4 separate regions of the Homo sapiens genome follow, and regions 2, 3 and 4 are each linked to region 1. Evidence: promoter capture Hi-C in 16 types of primary human blood cells and fetal thymus (Javierre and others, 2016). All regions are on one chromosome and are shown on one strand. The core of a region is centred on a gene start or on the middle of the fragment in contact, and the rest is flanking DNA. Distances in the headings are between cores, read along the strand shown. Region 1 holds the start of TPD52L3 (TPD52 like 3). Region 2 overlaps GLDC (glycine decarboxylase). Region 3 has its middle 75 kb from the start of RANBP6. Region 4 has its middle 92 kb from the start of RANBP6.

Region 1 (4,072 bases), core at 801-3,300:
TAAGAATAGCCATTCTGACAGGTGTGAGATGTTATCTCATTACAGTTTTGATTTGAATTTCTCTGATGATTAGTGATGTGGAACATTTTCTCATATGTTTTTTCATATGTTTGTTGGCCACTTGTATGTCTTCTTCTGAAAAGTGTCTGTTCATGTCTTTTGTCTATTTTTTTTTTTTTTTTTTTTTTTTTTTTTTTTTTTTTTTGAGACGGAGTCTCGCTCTGTCGCCCAGGCTGGAGTGCAGTGGCGGGATCTCGGCTCACTGCAAGCTCCGTCTCCCGGGTTCACGCCATTCTCCTGCCTCAGCCTCCCAAGTAGCTGGGACTACAGGCGCCCGCCACTACGCCCGGCTAATTTTTTGTATTTTTAGTAGAGACGGGGTTTCACCGTTTTAGCCGGGATGGTCTCGATCTCCTGACCTCGTGATCCGCCCGCCTCAGCCTCCCAAAGTGCTGGGATTACAGGTGTGAGCCACCGCGCCCGGCCACATTATTGATATATAGAAATGATACTGAATTTATATCCTGAAACTTTACTGAAGTCATTTATCAGTTCCAGGAGCCTTTTGGTGGAGCCTTTCGGGTTTTCTGGATATGGAATCATATCATCTGAAAAAGAAATAATTTGACTTCTTATTTTCCTATTTGAATGACAGGGTATGTCTTGATGTGGGATCTGGCAACTAAGTGTCTGAAAAGCTCAGTTTTGCTATGAGAAAAAAAACCATTCTCTGTCAAAAGGAATCAAGGCTTAATAAAAGATTTCATAGTATACACTGAAGGATGAGGAAGCTTATAAAGAAAATAGGCATCAAGGTTGGTGGTTGAAATAATACAGAGAAGTAAAATCAAGTGCAAGTTCAGATTTGGTGATTTGGAGTCTCAACTTTGAAGAGACAATGTGTGTTCTATATTATGTAGCATAATTCAGGGATTTCTTTACCCTTTAGTCTCAGGTTTGAAAGAGGAGTTCTGATTCAGAGTCTGGGAGTGTTCCTGAAACCACTAGTGTTTCTACAGGCAATAGAGGAAAAGTCTACCCTCTGGAACAAATTGGTTTTTAGGGAGTCCTTGCTGCCCTTTTCAGGCCTTTAAACACATAGCCAAATCCTCCATCAGCCTTCATGTTTACAAGAACAATTCTCACTTTTTAACTTAGGGAAACACACCACTCAGGACAAGGCAATAATAAACACTACTAAATTATGTGAAAGGGTTATAGAACATAAACTCAAAGGAGGGCTGAAGTTGGTTTGAATGCACAGCTGGATGCTTCATTGTAGCCACATAGGCATGAGTAGGGCAAACTGCTGAAATTTGCTGAGGATCAAATTATGTTCCACAAGATCATGCTCGCAAGAATTACAAGAATATCCAACAAAATCACTAGAGTCTAAGACTTGCTCAAGAATATTCTCTGAGAATAGGCAGCCATAGAATGAGCTAAGTGAAGCTCGACCACAAGACCTCACTGGATTAACGTCCTGATTTTTCCATTGCATAAGTTTACTCTCGGCAGAATTACGGTTGGGGGGAGGTTGGGGTGGCAGGTTGGCAGGGGAGAGTGGATCCACACTCTGATAGATCCTATTTAACTAGTTTTACTTTACTGTGCAGACTACCTCCCACAACAGGTAACCTTGAATGTAGGCAGACATGCTTCCAGAAATGTGAGTGGAGGTAGGGCGGAATAAAGAAAATGCAACTGCAAAACTGAAAATTCATACTAGCACAATGATGTTTAAATGATTTTCAAGTGTTGGAGCTGGTGTGGTGGAAAACAGTTGCCTGACGCTTTGGTTTGAAGGCCAGGGCTTGTCATTTACCATGTCAGGAGAAATTCCTCTCTTTTCGACAATAATCTCTGCACTGCCTACCTCAGGAGGTCCTCGCAATGCCAAAATGCCGCCAGTGTGGGTTGCGCCTCAGCTGAGCACTGATTCTACAGCCTCGCGGTTTGGGCGGGAAGTCCCACCTCCGCAACCCTGACCAGCCCGGCTCCCCACCCCCACCACCCGGAAGTGAACACCACGAGCTAGCGTGTCTACTTCACAGGCCAGGTCGTCAACTCAACTGTCAAGGTGTCCATTGTACCAGCTGGGCCATGGATCCCTCCCGCCTGAAATCTGACTCCACCTGCCAAGAGTCTGAGCCTGCAGGCCTAGATTTCGACTCTGCTGGCCAAGATTATTTCTCTGCAGCCCAATAATTCGACTCTTTCTACCAAGAATTGGACCTGGACTCTCTTAACGAAGATCTTCTTTCCCAGTCCATGCCACATGCCAGGACAGAGACCTCTGTGGGCACATATGAATCCCACTCGACTTCTGAACTGGAGGATCTGACAGAGCCCGAGCAAAGAGAGCTCAAAACCAAACTCACTAAATTGGAGGCTGAAATTGTAACCCTACGCCACGTACTAGCAGCCAAAGAGAGACGCTGTGGGGAACTCAAGAGGAAGTTAGGCCTCACCGCCTTGGTAGGGCTGAGACAGAATCTGTCCAAGAGCTGGCTTGATGTTCAGGTCTCCAACACCTATGTGAAACAGAAGACATCAGCTGCTCTGTCCACCATGGGCACTCTCATCTGCAGGAAGCTTGGAGGCGTGAAGAAGTCGGCCACATTCAGATCTTTTGAAGGTCTGATGGGGACAATCAAGTCCAAAGTCTCAGGGGGCAAAAGAGCTTGGCCCTGACTGTCTTTCTTCTGCGGAGGGTGGGGTTGATCTGCTCTCAGTTTTGGGGTGTGGGGAAGACCCACTCCAGATTCCGGGGAGTGGGAATGAGCCACTCCCAGTTCTGGAGAGTGAGGATGACCATCTCCACTTTCTGGAACCAGAATGAGCCCCCTTGGTAACCTTGCCTGGTACTAAACCAGTGCAAGGACCCCCTTCCCTTATTACATTTGCAACTCTGCCCAACAAAAACAAGCAAGCAAACCACAATGGTAAAGTGGTTAATTCAGGAAATTGACAGAATCCAGTTTTGAGAAAAGAACACAGATATTTGCTGCTTTTAAGATAGAGAACCCAAAGTTTTGTACCTGGTTATTTTTCACTTAAGTTTGTAGACGAAATGTGCCATTATATTAGCTTTCCTGAGACTGTATCTAATGGGCAAGTCAGTGGCTCCAGAGGGGTCTTAGGCCAAAGCCCAAACTCTCTTTTGGAAAACTAGCTTATTAGAAAGCCAAAGTAGAGTTCTGTTTAAGCTTGAAAGAGGTATGAAGTAATCTGTAGTGTTTTTTTGGTTTGTTTGTTTGTTTTCCCTTCCCCATTTCCTTCCTTCCCTCAGTCTCAAAGTCACCTTGAAAGCTTCACCTGGCCTACAACTTTTATTTTAAAAAGATGATCAAGAAAACTTCATCTTCTCTGAGACTCAGAAAAAGAGGGGAAAATAGTGGTAGTGCACTAATTGTTACATTACTAATATAGCTTTTGTAAAACTCGTTTGTTTTCAAAGGTCTGGACTAAGCAAAACAACAGTGTCAGTTTAGGAAATTATTACTACTTTGAACACAAACTGAAATTGCAACTTTGCCTTGTGCTTTGTTTATAATTTCTTTATATATCAAAATGAGTGTTTTAAAGTTTAACCCTTGAAGCAGCATGTCTTTGCCATAGCAGCACTTCACTTAAAAGGAAGAAATTGCCTCTCTGGCAGCAATTCCTAGTTAGTTACCACCTCCAGCTGAGGGGCTGGAGGAAAACAGGTATAGCCAAATTCAAGAAAGATAAACCCCTGTCTCAAGGAACATTTTAAAAAGAACGTCTGTCCCCTGTGATGCTGGCTGTTATGCCTTTGAATGGACCTAACTATACATCTTTGCTCTTAACTCCAAGTCTGCCCTTCTTTTTAGGAAACCCTAAAGGAGAAGGAAGCAGAATATAACCCTCTGGAGAGCTCAAGACAGTAGGAACCTGGACGGTGCTTGTTTGAATTTTCTGATATCTGATTTTCACACGAATATACTTTTTGTTTGTTTTCCTTTTCCATTTTCAAAATGCCAAGATCTGGGAGCCTCTTTCACTCCTCTAGACACACTGCCTGAGATAGAAGTTTGCATCTTATTGG
Region 2 (4,072 bases), core at 1,003-3,502, 250 kb after region 1:
CTGGCTAATTTTTGTATTTGCAGCAGAGATGGAGTTTCACTACGTTGGCCAGGCTGGTCTCAAACTCCTGATCTCAGGTGATCCGCCTGCCTCGGCCTCCCAAAGTGCTGGGATTACAGGCGTGAACCACCGCGTCTGGCCTGGAGTTAGGATTTCAACAGGTGAATTTTGAAGGAATGCAAACATTCAATCTATAGCACTTATAAAACCTTTTTATGATCCATATTGACTGTCTATTCCTGAATTAAATCTCATTCACTTTTCTGTTGCTAGAGAAACCTACAACATGACTTGGTAGGAAGCCACATAACAGAGCCTTAAAAACCTCACATTTTCTAGATCCTAACCTTTCCCTTGAGCTGATGAATTCTCTCTTAGAAAGAAAATTCACCAAAGAGAAAGGTCCCTGCTGCAGCATATATGTGGGCAGGGAATGACTGCAGAAAGAACAAAAGCCTTCTGTGCGCATAACACAGAAATGCCCTGGATGAGAAGACAGCGCGGAAAGGCACAGCAGCAAGGATGAGGCAGAGCCAGCAGCGCCACACGCAGAGAAATCCAGATGCAGGCCTGAAAGTTACATTTCATTCTGCTACTTGGTCATTTGAGAACCAGAGAGTTGTATTCTGAGTCCACTTGATGTTAAATATTATCCTATTCTGCAGAGTTTGAACTGGGTGCCCTGGGAGACTACCTCACTGTATTTATTAGGATAGAGGTGCCGCTAGGGCAGATGGAGGTGGTTATGTTTTGCCTCCAGCCCCAGGGCAAGCTTCAAAGCCAACCTTATCCCATATCCATCAGCTGATGGAGGAACCCTCTGAGATCAGGAGAACCAGGTGCAAATGAGCCTATAACCAACTTACTATGCATTTAGTTGTTTCACAATACGCATGTTCTCCACCATAAAAATATCTTTTTTGAATTGACTAAATAACATATGATCAAGGCTTTAAAAATTTTAAATAATCTAAAAACATAAGGACAAAAAGTAAAATCACCTGATATTCTACCACCTAGAGACAACTGTTTGAGTCCCATCCTTTCATACATCTTTCCACCTATGCCCCTGTGCACACACACACACGCAGTTTTACGCAGCTAACATCTGTTGTACTAAATTTTATTTCACTATATTTTATTTTCTTATAATTCCCCTCCTCTCCTGCTCCCCATCTCTACGTTATTGATTTTTTTTTGCTCGAATCCTGATTCTTTCCTTCCTTCTGCTTGCTTTGAGCTTAATGTACTTCTTTCTCTGTTGTTTTAGGGTGGAAGATTAAGTTGGTTTAAGATCTTTCTTCTTTTTTCTTTTTTAAAACAGGGTCAACCAGGCTGGAGTGCAGCGGCACCATCACAGTTCACTGCAGCCTCAACCTCCTGGGCTCAAGCAATCCTCTGGCCTCGGCCTCTCGAGTAGCTGGGACTACAGAAACACGCCACTGTGCCCAGCTACTTTTTTAATTTTTTGTAGAGACTAAGTCTCACTATCTGGTCCAGGCTTCTTTTTTTTTCGAGACAGGATCTTGCTCTGTCACAGGCTGGGGTGCAATGGTGTGAACATGGCTCACTGCAGCCTAGACCTCTGGGTGTAAGTGATCCTCCCACTTCAGCCTCCCAAGCAGCTGGGACCACAGATGCATGCCACCACACCTGGCTAATTTTTTAATTTGTACAAAGAGGGTCCCACTATGTTGCCGAGGCTGGTCTTGAACTCCTGAGCTCAAGTGATCCTCCCACCTCAGACTCCCAAAGTGTTGGGATTACAAGCATGAATCATGGCACCCAGCTCTTTCTTCTTTTTTAATGTAGTTATTTACAGCTATAAACTTTCCTGTTAGCACTGTTTTAGCTACAGCCCGTGATGTTTGATATGCGGTATCTTCATTTTAATTAGTTGGAAAGTACTTCCTCTCTTTTTTTCTTCTCTTAGAAACAGAGTCTCACTCTGTTGTCTAGGCTGGAGTGCAGTGGCGTGATCATGGCTCACTGCAGCCTCAACCTCCTGGACTCAAGTGATCCTCCCACCTCAGCCCCCAAAGTAGCTGGGACCACAGGTGCTTGCCACCATGCTAGGCTAATTTTTTTGGAGAGATGAGGTCTTGCTATGTTGCCCAGGCTAGTCTTGAACTCCTGGGATCAAGTGATCCTCCTGCCTCAGCCTCCCAAAGTACTGCAATTACAAGCATGAGCTACTGCACCTGGCTTCAAAGTACTTTCCAGTTCTCCTTGTGATTCCTCTTTGTTCCACTGGTTATTTATAAGGGTGTTATTTAATTTCCACATATTTGTGAATTTTGCTCATCTTTCTGTTATTTCTAGTTTCACTCCATGTGATCAGCCTCTGTTAATCTGTTTTCAACATGCCCTTATGTTCCTAAATGTTTGTTAAGAAATCATTTATTTCTCTATGTTTTTAAATTTGTTGACACAGGGTAGCATATACTATTCCTTTATAATTCTTTGGATCTTATCTATATCTGGGTATGTTCTTTCTCATTTCTTATTTGTATATATATATTTTTTCCTTAGGCAAGAAAAGAGTTAACTGATTTCACTGGATCTTTCAAATAATCAGTTTTTGTATTTATTAATCCTTGTGACTATTTTATCTTCTAGGTCATTCATTCTAGCTTTTATCTTTAATCATTTCATTTTTTACCATCATTTTGGTTATACAATTTTTTTTCACTTCCTCAGATGAATATTAATTAACTCTTCCATGTTCTCATCCCCAAATGCTGAATCTTCTGAATCTGTCTTCTGAGTTCCTTAACTTTTCCCTCACAGCCTTAATCTGTATATTTTGGGTTTTTGTTTTGGAATATTTCCTCCAAGTACCTTTCCAAGTCACTAATTTTGTTTTCAAGAGTATCCCATCCTGATTATTTATTTGATAATTTTATTATTTTTTTTGTAGATGGGGTCTTACTATGTCACCCAGGCTGTTCTCAAACTCCTGGCCTTACGTGATCCTCCTATCTCAGCCTCCCAAAGTGCTGGGACTGTGAGCCACCGTGCCCAGTCCTGATTGTTTAAAATTGAAACTCATGGTTTTAGTTGCAGAATGTCCTTTTTACTTAATACTGAATGTCAGCCAGCTCTGAGATCGAAGTTGTATTGCTATAACTAGCTGACTTTGCCTCACGCCAGTGCCTATAACGCTGGCTGCCCGGGCAACCTGTTCTGAGCACTCTCCCTGTGCTTCCTCTCTGTTGCTGGGTCCAGTGAAGTGTGCAACTAAAATTTTCCCTTTGCTGGCTACGGCTCCATTCACCCTTAGGGCTGAGTTCAGGTTGCTGCAACATCTTCAGCAGCAGAACCAGTCTGCAAGCTGTCAGTCCTCTGTTGGGGGCAGTGGGAGCATCACTGGGAGAATCTCCTCATCTACAAAGGCTAGAATCCACACAGTCTCAGAACTACGGAAGACCTGGCCCCACTCTTCATTTCCCCTGAAGCACCCTGAAGGCCAGAGAGACCTTCGACCCAGGAACATTCCTTCAGACAACTGCCTTTCGTCTCAGGGTTTGTGGATCTCCATAAGCCAAGTTCTCTTCAGGCCCCAAAGAACTCTTACCCTCACCCTAGGGCTCCTTGACTCTTGCAGGCTCTCTGCTTCTATAATTGCAGGACCAGCCCACACTGGGCCTGTTCTGTTGATAACAAAATGTTGAGTTACCTTATAACAGAGTCCACAGTTGCAAGTCATGTAGTCTGGGAATGTGCAATAGAAAAAGCTTTGACTTCTAACGACACCCAGAACCAGGGATTCCGCCCCTCGGAACCAACAAGGCTGGAAGAGAACCAGACCCTGCATGCCAGAACTTCTTCAGAAGTGAGGGGTCTACTGATCCGGAAGATGTAGGGCTCAGCATACCTTACCGTAAGCTGTCAAATCTGAAGCCCTCTAATTAGACCTTGCCAAGCCAGCATTCCCAAATCCCTTCCCCTGCCTTCTGATCCCTTAAAACTTGCCCCAGATCCCAAATAGAGGAGAGAAATTTCAGCTGACTCTTGTCTCCTTGCGGGCTGGTTTTGCAATAAATAAAGCCCTTCTTTTCTCAAAAGCTGG
Region 3 (4,072 bases), core at 858-3,357, 240 kb before region 1:
TCCTTTTCTTCTTGCAGGGAATAAAGATGTGAGTCTTCCCATTGAGAGAGAATGTATAAGTCACATGGACTTAATAATTTAGTTCTTTATAATTTAAAATTTCTCACCATAAATTGATAAATTGACATTCTAGTGCATACGTCACTCTACGGACCTATTTAATTAGAGTTTACCTTGAGAGATAAACCCGGTCTTGATATTTTTCAAATTAGTTTTCTTAGACTACAAGATTGAAGAAAAGACTATGAGAAATTCTTCACAGCTTGTGAGGCTTTTTAGGAGTTAGACACTACCAGCCTCACCTGGCAACAACCTAAATACAAAAATAAAAATATAAATGAAATACATAATATAAAAATAAAGCTTTTCTTTTGAAATTCAGGGGATTGCATATTTGTATTAATACATAAAAGCTCCACTGAAGAAAAAACAAAATGTGACTTAGAGGCAACCCATGAGGAGGCGTAAAAGCTTTCTTCTTCACAAGGCTACCCCACGCTGGCTAACGATTTCTTCAACCAATTATACTGTCTCTTGCGGAATTTGAATGTGAGACATACAGAGAAGTACACAAATGGTAGAGAAACACAGAAACAGACAGCAATGCAGAAAACACTATAAAAGTCAAAGCCATCAGGTAGCAAAGTCATGAATAAGCAGAAAATCATGAATAAGTTGAAACAATATCAGGTGGTATGAGTTGTGTGATACCTTGATGATGATCCATATCTCTTTGAAACCTGCTGAAAATATGTAGATAGTTTCACATTTCTCATTTTCTCATTCATCTTTATAATGTACCACTTAAGATGATCTTAGTGGGCCTATGTACCTTACAACTTTTAATAGTTATTAGCACAAATATTTCCCAAATCTATTACCTCATATTCGTGCCCATTTCCCTGCCCAGATTAAGCCTTCATTGTTATTCATATAGATGACTAGAAAAATAATTCATAGCTTCCCAGCTTTCACTTTTCCATCACATAACACAGATCTTATCATGTCACTCTCTCTGTGTTCATGAATAATGCATATGTGAGAACTGGATGTCATAAAACAGTGAATCATGGGGTTGGCTGTAGAACCATTCCATCTGTGTATGTGCATAGGCCTGGGAGATTGAGAGTTGGAGGAGCCTTATCATACACTTTGAGTAGGGAGGTGAGAACCAGAAAATTAGAGGTAGTTTCATTCACTCCTCTGGTTTCCATCACCTTGTATATGCTGATGACCTCTACTTCAATTTCTCCACCCTCTTCTGACCTTAGATGCATATAGCCAACTGTTTACCCCACATCTCCGCTGGGAGGACTTATAGGCACCTGAATCTCAACATGTCTAAAACAAAGCTCATCAGCTTTCCCTTCCTGTGAGGGTGATTTCATTTCTCTCTTTAGAGACTGGCATCACTATTTGTTCAAGCCAAAAAACCAAGAGTCCTCTCCCTCTTCTTCTCCCTCATTCTTCATTTATAAGAAATCACCAAGTTCTCTTGATTTTACTTCTTTAATGTTTTTTTCAATCTGAGCTCTTCTCTCTATTTCACTGAATTACTTTAATCTGATCCATCTCTCTCATGTAGGTAATTCACAGGTCTTTCTCACCTAATCTAGGATCTTCCCAAATGCATTCACTACGCTGCATCCATCCACAGGTGGCTATTTAAGTAAATTATGATACACCTATACAATGTAACACTGAGTAGCCTTTAGAAAGAAGGAGGCAGATTTGCATGTGCTGAATATTTGATAAAAATGCAAATAACTGAATAGCATGTATTGTATTATCTTCCTAGGCAAATTTACAAAGTATATGAAATGTTGTTGCTATAGTTTCATTTGTTTGCCCCCCTCCAAATCTCATATTGAATGTTGAAGCCCAGTGTTGGGAGTGGGGTCTAGTGGGAGATGTTTGGGTCATGGGAGCAGATCCCTCATAAATGTCTTGGTGCCATCCTCTTTGTAATGAGTGAGTTCACACTGTGCTAGTTCCTGCAAGTGCTGGTTGTTAAAAATAGCCTGGCACCTCCCAGCTCTCTCTCTTGCATCTTCTTCACCATGTGACCTCTGCATACACCAGCTTCACTCTGCCTTCTGCCACAAATGAAGGGGGCCTGAGGCTCTCATCAGAAGCAGATGCTGGTGCCATGGTTCTTGTATAGCCTGCAGAACCATGAGCCAAATAAACCTCTTTTCTTTATAAATTACCAGCTTCAGGGTAATTTATAAAGTCTGTTGTGTTGTTATCACAATACAAACAGACAAAGACAGCTGTCATATGCACATGTAGATGATTTTAATTATTTTTCTAAGGATTCCAAAGAAAATGCCTACAGGGAGAAATACTCAGAGCCTAGAGTGGTTGAGGCAGAGGATGTGGATACTTTCCTTAAAAGGCAGAGGGTGTGGTGACCTTCTGTTATGAAAAATTCTAAACATACACATAAGTAGGGAGAATAGATAATTCCTTTCTTCATGATCACCCAGCTTCAATAATGATTAACTTGTAGTCAATCTTGTTTTGTTTATGTCCTCACTCACTCTACTTCTAGTTCTACTGTTATTATTTTAAAGCAATTTTCAGGTGTTACAGAATTTCATTAGTGGAATACTTCAGTATATATCTCTAAGATAATGTTGTCCAACAGGATTCTCTGCAATGATGAAAATATCCTATATATGTACTTTCCAATACTATCTACGAGCCATACATGGCTAATCAAGCACTGGAAATGTGACTGATGTGGCTGAGGAACTAAACTTTTTAAGTTTTTCCTATTTTAATTGACTTAAATCTAAATGTAAACAGTCACGTGTGGCTAGGGGCTACACAACTGGACAGTATAGCTCTTAGATATAAGGATTCTTTTAAAAATTTATAACTAAAATAGACCAGGCCAGGGTGGCTCATACCTGTAATCCTAGAACTTCGGGAGACCCAGGTGGGAGGATCGCTTGAGGTCAGGAGTTCAAGTTTACAGTGAGCTATGATTGCAATGCTGCACTCCAGCCTGGGGAACAGAAAGAGACTCTGTCTAAACAAACAAACAAACAAACAAAACAAAACACAACTGAAATATGTCACATCTAAAAATGAGTACCATTTCCTGAATATTATCAATTTCCAATTGCAGTGCTCAAAATTTTTCAGATATATCATAAATATTTTTTGTTTGCTTTTTTTGTTTTTGAAATGGGTCTTGCTCTGTTGCCTGGGCTATAGTGCAGTGGTATGAGCATGGCTCATTGCAGCCTCAGTGTCCTGAGTAGCTGGGACTGCAGGTGCACATCACCATGCCTGGCTTTGTTTTGTTTTATTTTGTAGAGATGAGGTCACTATGTTGCCCAGGCTGGTCTTGAACTCCTGAGCTCAAGTGATCCTCCTGCCTTGGCCTCTCAAAGTGCTGGGGTTACAGGCATGACTCATTGGTCATAATTTTAATAGTTGCTTTGCTTGAAACTAAATCCATACACTTTATTGTTTGTTGATATGTTTCTTAAGTTCTTTTAATCTAAAGTTTTGATAAGGATGCATTAATTTTCATTTTATGCCAACCTACATAGTTTGAATTTTTAAACAATTTTAAACCATGAATATATCATTTTTAATCACTAGTGTACCATCAGAGATTGTCTAGGTGGTAGGACTATATGCCAATACTTGTTATTATTAAAGAATGCTTGCCTTTTTTTAAGTACAAATCTTTTAATATGATTTCTGTGCCCTAAAGGGCTCTTCTTTTAAGCTTCTAAAATTTAATATCCAAATTCTTTTTTTCTACTTTTTTTCAACTTTTATTTTGGACTCAGAGAGTACATACGCAGGTTTGTTATATGGGCATATTGTGCGATACTGAGATTTGGGGTATGGATTATCCTGTCACTTGGGTAGTGAGCATAGTACCCAATAGTTAGCTTTGCAGCCCATGCCCCTCCCTTCCCTCCCATTTCTAGTAGTTCCCAGTGTCTGTTGTTCCATCTTTATGTCTATGTGTACCCGATGTTTAGCTCCCACTTGTGAGAACATGCAGTATTTGGTTTCCTGATCCTTTATTAGTTCACTTAGGATA
Region 4 (4,072 bases), core at 437-2,936, 220 kb before region 1:
CTTCATTCCCAGAATTGACAGGCAAGCAGTCATATGTCCTTCCTTTATGCTCATGGGTCCTATGGATGCAAGGTAGTGTTTTCTAAAAAAAAATAAAATAAATAAAAAATCAAAAAGATAAGAAAATTTGAAGGTATCAGGGCTGGTTTTGAATCCTGGCTCTGCTCTGACGCTTATTCCACACCCCAGAACAAGTTATTTAATCCCTGTAAGTCCCACTGTGCTCATCTGTGAGATGGGAATATCAATCCCTACAATGTTGGGTTGCTAGAAAAGATACATGAGATAGCACCTGGAACAGAGCAAGTACTTCATAAAAGTTGGTTTTTAGCCCTAGCCCTTTATGCCTCCATTTCCTGCCTTTGATCATCATTGGTGTGAACTTTTCTGCCTACTGAATAATAGAGAAATGCTTTGTGATGATAAGAACATAGCAGAGAATGAAGTGTGTAAATTCTGGGGCAGAGAAAATTCTCTGGACTAAACACACTTTAGTGTACATGAACATCCCTCCAAATTTTATCAGGCTGGTGCCTATATGTTTCAGCTTAAAATATACTTCCTGATAAGCAGAAAGAAAATTTTAAGTAATAGATAAATAACGTGTACACATGGACATACAGTGTGGAATGATAGACATTGGAGATTCCGAACGTGGGAAGAAAGCATAGGGTAAGAAATTACTTAGTGAGTAAAATGTATATTATTCTAGCAGTGAATACACTAAAAATTCAGGCTTTACCACCACTCAATATATCCATGTAACAAAATTGTACTTGTACTCCCTAAATTTATACAAATAAAAATTAACTTCTCTCTCTCTCTCTCTTCCTGGAGGAAAATAACTAGTAGGTTTCTTTTGGGTTGGATAGGACTTATTTGCTTTTCAACACCCAAAGAATAACTTTGAAAATGTTATTTTCAAAATAAATTGAGTGTTCCCTGGAAGTTGCTGTATTTTTTTAATTGGTTATTTTGGAGTAGTCTAGAAGACTTCCCTACAATTATTGTTTAAGCCTTAAAATAAACCCTTTAGTATACAAATTTGAAAAAATTAAAGCTTTCTTGAAAATAGATTTATATATACTCTATCAGAGTGCAAGCAGGAAACAGAAGCTACACCAGTTACTTGAACATAGAGACTTTAAGGAATGGTTGGTAACTAGGTAACTGAAAGGATTAAATTAACAAACAAACAAACAAAAAAACAACAATGAAAGTAACATGGAGATAGCAACTGCAGGAAGCAGCTACCACTCCTGGGGCTGGGGATAGCAGAGGGAAGTGCTTGGATTTATTAGAAGTTAGAAACTTTGAGAAAGGGCCCCACAACTTGTGCTGGCTGTGAGCTGGGATAAGCAGCCCTGTGGGCCTGCCACTGAAACCTTTGAGGACAGGGCACTATTTATAGCTCACTTGTGTCTATGAGGTGGGGGCATGATGAAGCTGTTTTTGCGAAAGTTGCAAAAACTGCAAATTGGAATCAGCTGCTGCTATGGAACGGCATGGGTGAAGAAGCACTCCTGGAGTGATCTTACAGAAACCACAAGCTGACAAGCCTATAGGGAACAAACTGAAAGGAACCTGTCCTTTCTCTCTCCTCCAGCCTGGCTGTCTCCCTCTGTAACACCCTCTAGTGACAGAGCCTAACTGGAGCAGCTGGCAAAGCTAAAAATGATGTTTTGAGTCCCAGGCCTGAATTGCATAAGTGTATAGAGAAGGGTAGCTGAGAGACAATAACTTAATGTAAAACTTGTTTGAAAATAGACCTCTAATGCAAAGGAAAGACACGTTGAGGAATTGATATCCTCTCATTCCTTTTTCTTCCCAACTCCTAATTCAAGGCTAAGAGAATGTTCCAAATTGTAATGGTATTTGGAGGATGATACAAGATGAAATGTGACCCAACATTTCTTTTCCACCTTGCCATGACTCCAGTGGCTCCAAGACATTTGTATTCCACAGACTGGTAAAATTTTCTATTTGTGGCAACTGACTTAGAGTTGATTGCTTTTTATTTTGTCTAGTGATAGCATTAAGTACCCAGTAGCATTTCATTAAAGAAAGAATATTTCAACCACCAAAACTCAGGAAGAACATAATCTCAGAGTAACGAGTAGTTCTTACATGGATGATTTTGCTTTTTTGAAAAACCCATTGTTAAAATGCAAATACTGAGGGACAGAAATAAATTAATATTTCTTATTTTTGTTTTTAAAAAAACTTTCTTTTGTTTTTATTTATTTATTTTTGAGACAGAGTGTCGCTCTGTCACCCAGGCTGGAGTGCAGTGGCGTGATCTCGGTTTACTGCAAGCTTTGCCTCCCGGGTTCACGCCATTTTCCTTCCTCAGCCTCCCAAGTAGCTGGGACTACAGGAGCCTGCCACCATGCCCAGCTAATTTTTTTTGTACTTTTAGTAGAGACGGGATTTCACCATGTTAGCCAGGATGGTCTCGATCTCCTGACCTCGTGATCTGCCCACCTCGGCCTCCCAAAGTGCTGGGATTACAGGCGTGAGCCACCATGCTCGGCCTCTTTTGAGACACGGTCTTGCTCTGGCACCCAGGCTGGAGTGCAGTGGTGTAAATACAGCTCACGGCAGACTCAAATCACCTGGGCTTAATTGATCCTCCCACCTCAGCCTCTTGAGTAGCTGGGACTACAGCCACCACACCTGGCTAATTTTTAAAAATGTTTTGTAGAGATGGGGTCTTGCCAAGTTCCCTAGGCTGGTCTTGAAATCCTGGGCTCAAGCAATCCTCCTGCCAAAGTGCTAGGATTGCAGGCATGGGCCTCCAAGCCCAGGTGAACAATCTTGATATTCATAAATTTGCATGGGTTTTACAGTTACAGTAATTGTAATAATCTGTAATTATTAAGAGCTTACTATGAACTAGGATTATGATGAGCACTATATATATGATTTAATCTTCCTCGTAAGTCTCCCAAGTGGGTCCCATTATCATCCCCATTACACATTAAGGAAAATGAGAATTGGTGAAGATGTGAGCCTAAGGTTACACAGCTAAGTGGCAGAGCTATGCCTAGAAGCCAGATCTTCTGACAACAAAGTCTGGCTGGGCTGCCTGGCTACCCATACCTCTCTGTCTGGAATCCCTTTTACATATTCCCTATATGGATTCCTACTGAAGGTATGGGCCATGGGCCCAGGCACCACTGACTTTATCATATGGCCCTGCCCTCCTGGACAAAGCTTGTTCTAACTTTCAAGATAAAGATTATATAACTTTCAGCTACAGCCTGGCTACATGTTGTTCCCTGACCTTGTATTATTTGAGTTCTTTTCTTAAAATGAACAAACTTCTCTTGGCTTGAGATATTTATGTTACCATTCCTTGCATTCTTTCTGTTTTTATATTCTTTGCAAATAATCCTTGCTTGAAGTGTTCAAAATCTCCCCCAAGATGGGCACCCCTGGTAGACTCAGAAAGCCTGAGCTGCTGCTGTGCAGTCCAATATCTACTCACGCTGTTGAGGCTGGAGAAGGGGAGATGGAAATGGTGCTCATAGCCTTCCAGCTTTGTCTGCTTCAGTGGCTCAGTGGCTGTTTGCAGATGGAGTTTTCGGCTGGGGCTCAAGCCCTAAGGTTGGAATACTAGCTTCCCTGACTCCTTGTTTCCTGCTCCTTCTCTCACTGTTCTGAGTAGTGGTTCTGTACCATCTGCTTAATGCAAATAATGCAGTATTTTATTCCTCTTTAATGAACGTAGACACTTGTGATGGAAAGACACATAACACACAGCATGCACAGGGAGGGGATTTATGAGTTCTGACCCAAAGTCGGGGCAGTGAATGCGACCTCGTACACAGAGATTCATTAGAAAGTCTCCAATGTCAACATATGGCATTTTTTTACTCAGTACTGTCAGGTAGCTTTTATTTTATCCCTTTACTCGTGAAAAAACAGATTCAGATGCATTTGCCACAGGTATCGTAACTAGCTAGCCACTGTCAGAATCATGATTACAATGGAAGGATTTTGATTCCTGTTCCAAGACTACACTACCTCTTGGCAAAAATAAAAGCATTCATTCATTCTTCATTTATTC

Evidence for each region. The method cuts DNA at HindIII sites, captures the fragments that hold promoters and counts their contacts. A CHiCAGO score of 5 or more calls a contact.
Region 2: a fragment that was not itself captured here is called in contact with the fragment with the promoter of TPD52L3 in region 1 in 1 of 17 cell types (endothelial precursors); the score reaches 9.2 in endothelial precursors.
Region 3: a contact is called between a fragment that was not itself captured here and the fragment with the promoter of TPD52L3 in region 1, in 1 of 17 cell types (endothelial precursors). The highest score is 5.5, in endothelial precursors.
Region 4: a contact is called between a fragment that was not itself captured here and the fragment with the promoter of TPD52L3 in region 1, in 1 of 17 cell types (endothelial precursors). The highest score is 5.4, in endothelial precursors.

The regions. Positions count from the first base shown.
Region 1 is chr9:6,326,325-6,330,396 of GRCh38, forward strand. TPD52L3 (TPD52 like 3) reads left to right here and starts at 2,051. Exons shown (of 2, transcript NM_001001874.3): 1 at 2,051-2,638. The coding sequence starts at 2,272. LOC107987046 (a long non-coding RNA gene) reads right to left here and starts at 1,944. Exons shown (of 3, transcript XR_001746614.2): 1 at 1,877-1,944. The HindIII fragment of the contact is 1,804 bases long and covers 790-2,593 here.
Region 2 is chr9:6,576,626-6,580,697 of GRCh38, forward strand. The region is part of intron 15 of GLDC (glycine decarboxylase); the gene reads right to left. Among named protein-coding and RNA genes, the nearest start is that of GLDC, 67 kb to the right of the region's middle. The HindIII fragment of the contact is 2,965 bases long and covers 771-3,735 here.
Region 3 is chr9:6,088,439-6,092,510 of GRCh38, forward strand. No RefSeq gene overlaps it. Among named protein-coding and RNA genes, the nearest start is that of RANBP6, 75 kb to the left of the region's middle. The HindIII fragment of the contact is 3,277 bases long and covers 470-3,746 here.
Region 4 is chr9:6,105,591-6,109,662 of GRCh38, forward strand. No RefSeq gene overlaps it. Among named protein-coding and RNA genes, the nearest start is that of RANBP6, 92 kb to the left of the region's middle. RefSeq lists enhancers at 920-1,420, 1,169-1,218, 1,421-1,921. The HindIII fragment of the contact is 1,256 bases long and covers 1,059-2,314 here.